2 separate regions of the Homo sapiens genome follow, and region 2 is linked to region 1. Evidence: promoter capture Hi-C in human tissues and cell types (Jung and others, 2019). All regions are on one chromosome and are shown on one strand. The core of a region is centred on a gene start or on the middle of the fragment in contact, and the rest is flanking DNA. Distances in the headings are between cores, read along the strand shown.

Region 1 (2,700 bases), core at 196-2,695:
GTTATGTTCCAATTATCACCAAATAAGACAATGCTATTATTTGATTAAAGTTTCAAACATAATTTCCTACCAAGGAACAGAAGACAAAACCTCAAGAAAGAGTCCTGACGGGGCGAGCGCGGTGGCTCACGCCTGTAATCCCAGCACTTTGGGAGGCCGAGGCGGGCCTGAGATCTGGAGTTTGAGACCAGCATGATCAACATGGAGAAACCCCGTCTCTACTAAAAAAAAAAAAAAAAAAAAAAAAATTAGCCGGGCATGGTGGCGCATGCCTGTAATCCCAGCTACTCCGGAGGCTGAGGCAGGAGAATCGCTTGAACCCAGGAGGCGGAGTTTGCGGTGAGCCGAGATCGCGCCATGGCACTCCAGCCTGGGCAACAAGAATGAAACTCCGTCTCACAAAAAAAAAAAAACAAAACAAACAAAAAAAAAAAACAACAAACAGGCCTGGACGGAGGGGTCAGAGCTCTGTCCCTCCCCATTTCAGAGTGTTTGAGCAAATAACTCTTTCGGCTCAGAGCTTCAGGTGGAAAGTAATATGAGATGATTTTACTCTTCTTTCTGCCCTGTATCAAAATCCATCTCAGTGATTTCCACGTATTTAGCCCCGGCTTCTTGCTCAGGTGTAGGTGAGCTCACCCTGCGCTCTCTCCCACTGCTCAGCTCAGTTGACCATTCGGGTTTTCCACTATACTTGGTCACTTATGTGATTATGAACAGATGTTCAGTATTAAGAAGACCCTGGGGGATCTTATCCAATGACTTTATCCAACAGAAAGGAGATGAGGTATCAGGACTGGGTGGCTAGCCAGGTTCCAGGCCGGGCCTCAGGATAGCTGCGCAGCCTGGCATTTTCGCCTCACTTTCCAGAAGGACGAGAAGCCAAGTTCAGGTCCTTTCCAGAAATAGATGTAGATACTTCTGCTGGACTGGGAAGCCAGGAGCTGAAATATCACAACAGGACGTTTCAGGCTATGAAAAATAACTGCTTACTAATTCTAACGTAAGTTATCCAGATTACGAGAAGCATTTCTGCCAATGCTCATGTCAGCTAAGCTCAGAGAAGTTACCTCATCCTCAGAGAGCAACGAATGGTATGGTCTATGTAGAAAGCAAAATTTGCAACGGAAAAACCAGAGTTCGTGTGCACTTTATGAGGAAGAGGGTTAGGTGCACCAGACAGAGGAGTTTCTCAGGTTTCCGTGTCGCCTGTTCTCTCGACCAGGTGGCCCTCTCGGCGCAGGCGGGGACCCCACCCTGCGGGACTTCGGCTCCTCCGTGCGGACAGGGGGCGCCCGCAGCCGTGCCTTTCCCGCCAACTCCACTAGTGCTCCAGCTCGCCCTTGTGCGACCGCCTCTAGGGCCCGGGATATTTCCTGTTCCGGGGCGTGTGGGACCCGGATGCAAGCGTGCTATATAAGCGTTGCTCAAGTCCCACCCCTTTCTTTTTGAGGAAGACGCGGTCGTAAGGGCTGAGGATTTTTGGTCCGCACGCTCCTGCTCCTGACTCACCGCTGTTCGCTCTCGCCGAGGAACAAGTCGGTCAGGAAGCCCGCGCGCAACAGCCATGGTGAGGCGGCAGTCGGCGGCGGGCGGCGCAACGCAGGGCTCGGGCGCCGGGGGGACCCCGGTTTCGAGTTCGTGCTCCTGAGGGCAGATGCCGGGGCGTGTAGGGGCGGAAAGGCGCTCCTGAAATGGTGGGGAAACGCGGGAAGCTTCCGGAAGCTGCCTTTCTCCAGAAGTGGCAGACCATTTTTGGCTTATTGTTCTTTTTCATGTATCTAATAATAGGCTTTTAAGGATACCGGAAAAACACCCGTGGAGCCGGAGGTGGCAATTCACCGAATTCGAATCACCCTAACAAGCCGCAACGTAAAATCCTTGGAAAAGGGTCAGTGCATTCGTTATGCGGGGGGGAGGGGGAATTGGGCGAAAAGCGACGAGCTTTACTCGTTAATGTTAGTGTAGAAGGTGGACTGCAAGAACTAAAGTGACAAGTTACTTAAAAAAGTAAAGCGTGGCTTAAAATTGCTTTTACTGTCATACAGCTGGCGATGAGGAGGTACCTATTGTGTTGAGTAACGGTGATAATTTTATACGCTATTCTGAGCCAGCAGAAGTGAAGGCCTTAAGCCGATTTTAATTGTTTCGATTATACTGAGAGGTCTTTTATTTCCTGTAGTGTGTGCTGACTTGATAAGAGGCGCAAAAGAAAAGAATCTCAAAGTGAAAGGACCAGTTCGAATGCCTACCAAGGTAAAGTAAATCGGAGGGGCAGGAAGTAGGAGTTGCTTCCGGATGTTGCATAAATTCAGGTTCTTTAAGGAGTTCGGCTGCCAAAATTGTTAACACTGATGCTGTCTACAAACGCACATAGAAATCGGTGGTAGATTGCGGTTCCTAGTAAGTAGCTAATGTTTAGATATGATTGTTGAATTATTGTTGCTGTGTTCTTGGTGTGCTTTGGTGCTTAACAGGCGCAAGCTCTAAGGGTGGTGTCCTAGCACAGTGAAAACAGACCTGGCATTTTCAACCCATGGTACCTGAAAATCTATTAGTGTAAATTGGAATCATACCAAAGGGAAACTAATGAAATGATTAGAAGTAATGATTTTCCAGATGTTCTAGGGATAAGTATAAAACGATAAACACTTGGTTTCCTTTGTCTTTTGTTACAGACTTTGAGAATCACTACAAGAA
Region 2 (2,700 bases), core at 45-2,544, 1.4 Mb after region 1:
CACAACAAACTGTTTTTTCAGGCAGACACCCTTGTGGGTCTTGCCTGACCTGTATCCAGATTATTCCTGTCAAGACAGCCACTCTCTAAGATAGCTCTGACCAAAAAGAAGGCTACGTTAAGAGCATCTATGCCAAATGAGACACAATGAAGTGAAATGGAAATGCGCAAAACATAAGTGTTTATTATTCACAGTTCCCAGAAAGGTTAGGGGTGCCAACAGAAAGAGGCAGCAGGGAGCTCAATCAGCAAGGGGTCAGTGGGGAGGAGAGGAAGAGGGAGAAAGGGAAGGAGGGAGGTTGTGAGACAGAACTTTTGGGAGAGAGGGACGGGGAAATCTCTGGGACTGTGTATGCCTTTATTAAGCTCTGTGGACATTATCCCTTAGGCTTTCTTGTGGGGGTTGTAGATGGGCTAATTTAAAGAAATAAGTTCCCCTCTTCCCTCCTGAAGGGGTGAACCTATTTATGTGACTCTGGTGTTGACCGTTACATTTTATCACGTTCAATAGCTGTGGGGTGTGTTGGGTTTTGGGTCAAAGAAGTGAGGAACAAATAAGCCATACGGCAAACAACTACACGGGAAAGTAAGCTTTTAACTAAGCCAAAGGTGACAAAGTAGGACTAAATTTCAAATATTATGTCAATCCTAAAAATGGATGCTGAGGCAGCAACTACATTAAATAAACTTATAAATATATATATGAATATTCATATATATGAACATAAATATAGTGTTTAGCTTTGTATCACCCATTTCTCACTAACCACTTTCACTCTCAATATAATGAATTCCTGTGATGTACAAGTCATGTTTTCCCATGAACCTACCATCCTATCTTAATTTACTTGGTTGTATTGATTCACCTGAGCTTTAAGCAGTCTTACGTAAGTAGTAGTCTGTAGACTGCAGCCATTTATCAACATTAGTGTTACAGAAGAAAAGAACTATTCTCAAGATGAAAAGCAGCTAAATGATTTCTACTCCATTGACCTTTGTTTTTTGTTCTTGCTGTTACTGATTGTTATGATAATCTGTGTATGAATCAAAAAGTAAACATTAATATATGAAATATCTATGCATAGAGAAAAGGCTCATGTGTATATCCTTTAGAAAGAATTCCCATTGATAAAAAAATAATCATTGTATATTACATCTTTTTTTTTTTTTTTGAGATGGAGTCTCGCTCTGTTGCCCAGGCTGGAGTGCAGTGGCACCATCTCGGCTCACTGCAAGCTCCGCCTCCTGGGTTCATGCCATTCTCCTGCCTCAGCCTCCCGAGTAGCTGGGACTACAGGTGCCCACCACCAAACCTGGCTAATTTTTTTGTATTTTTAGTAGAGATGGAGTTTCAACGTGTTCGCCAGGATGGTCTCGATCTCTTGACCTCGTGATCCGCCCACCTTGGCCTCCCAAAGTGCTGGGATTACAGGTGTGAGCCACTGCGCCCAGCCCATTGTATATTACATCTAAAGTCCATGATGGGAATTGTTTACTAATTTTTGTCTAGAACAAGATGAACGTATCTTCTCTAAACCATCAAACATAGTACTTGTCTCTGTTTGAAGGTTTGCTGTTTTGTTGCTTAATTTTCAAAAGCTTTTTGGTCATACATTCTTTGCCATGACTTGGGAATAGTCCCTTAATAACTTAGCACTTAAGTTACTGGAAGATAAACCCTTTTAGGAAAAAAACTGTGAAATACCTTGAAATGGACAAAAAAGAAATTACTAAGTGCCTTATCAAGCCCTCTTGGGGTTATCTCTGTTTTTTCATTATCTTTAAATTATCTGATAATCCTGCAAATTGTAAAAACACAGATAATGCAAACTATTCTTGTCCATAGAAATATAAATTGGTGGTGTCCAGGGAATGTAATTTTTGTCCTGGACAGACCCAAATTCATTTCAGCATTTCTTATTGCTTATTTTTAGTGATACTTTAAATTCTTCCTTCAGCCCATTGTATATGTTAATAATTCCCTATGTAATTTGTAAGTTAAATACAATCTTTGGCACATGGTCATGTTATATCTATATGGAATTCATGATTTTGCTTTTAAAAACAATTATCCTTTAATACCTTAATGGACAAGAGCGTAGAATAGTAGGAAAAATGGTAAGTACTTTGGATTAAAAGAACCCTGGGCAGTAATGGAATCCTTCTTAACCTCAATAAACAGGGAATAGAAAGTCATTTTGTTTTCAGGGTAGATCTGTACATAGAGTATCAAACCACAAAACTCAGGACTTTTTATGAGAATCGAATACAGATATTAAAGTAAAAGTGCTTCTTTACTAGCCTCTGTGAGTTTTAGTCCCCTTCCTGCTACATTAAAGGTACTGTTACCCATCGAGAGGGTTCTCGTGAGGACTAAGATAATACACATAAAGAACTTAGCCCAATATTTGGCACAGAGCAGGGGCTCAAACTGTTTGTCACCTTCACTTTTGTGAAGGGCTATATGACTAAATGTTGAAAATATTACATTTCATATATATATATATATATATATAGAGAGAGAGAGAGAGAGAGAGAGAGAGGCACAAAATAAAGCTAAAATACATCTTGGTCAGAAGAACACCAACTTTGAAAAGTGTATCAAACGTATTCACACTAATGGCTTTTTAAAGAAAAATAGCTAAAACATGTTTAACACTGTGTGCCAAACTCTGTGCTAAGAGTTTTACAAGTATTTTCT

What was found. The method cuts DNA at HindIII sites, captures the fragments that hold promoters and counts their contacts. A contact is called where the count stands out against the background at its distance.
Region 2: a contact is called between a fragment that was not itself captured here and the fragment with the promoter of RPS20 in region 1, in 2 of the 25 tissues and cell types used here (neural progenitor cells and spleen).

What each region holds. Positions count from the first base shown.
Region 1 is chr8:56,073,251-56,075,950 of GRCh38, reverse strand. It overlaps RPS20 (ribosomal protein S20), which reads left to right and starts at 1,445. Exons shown (of 4, transcript NM_001023.4): 1 at 1,445-1,570; 2 at 1,792-1,891; 3 at 2,183-2,256; 4 at 2,679-2,700. The coding sequence starts at 1,568. It overlaps SNORD54 (small nucleolar RNA, C/D box 54), which reads left to right and starts at 2,050; the gene lies at 2,050-2,112. CERNA3 (competing endogenous lncRNA 3 for miR-645) reads right to left here and starts at 1,359. Exons shown (of 2, transcript NR_149110.1): 1 at 1,071-1,359; 2 at 677-944. The HindIII fragment of the contact is 21,018 bases long and covers 1-2,700 here.
Region 2 is chr8:54,633,553-54,636,252 of GRCh38, reverse strand. It overlaps a transcript of RP1 not described here. Among named protein-coding and RNA genes, the nearest start is that of RP1, 19 kb to the right of the region's middle. The HindIII fragment of the contact is 4,275 bases long and covers 1-2,700 here.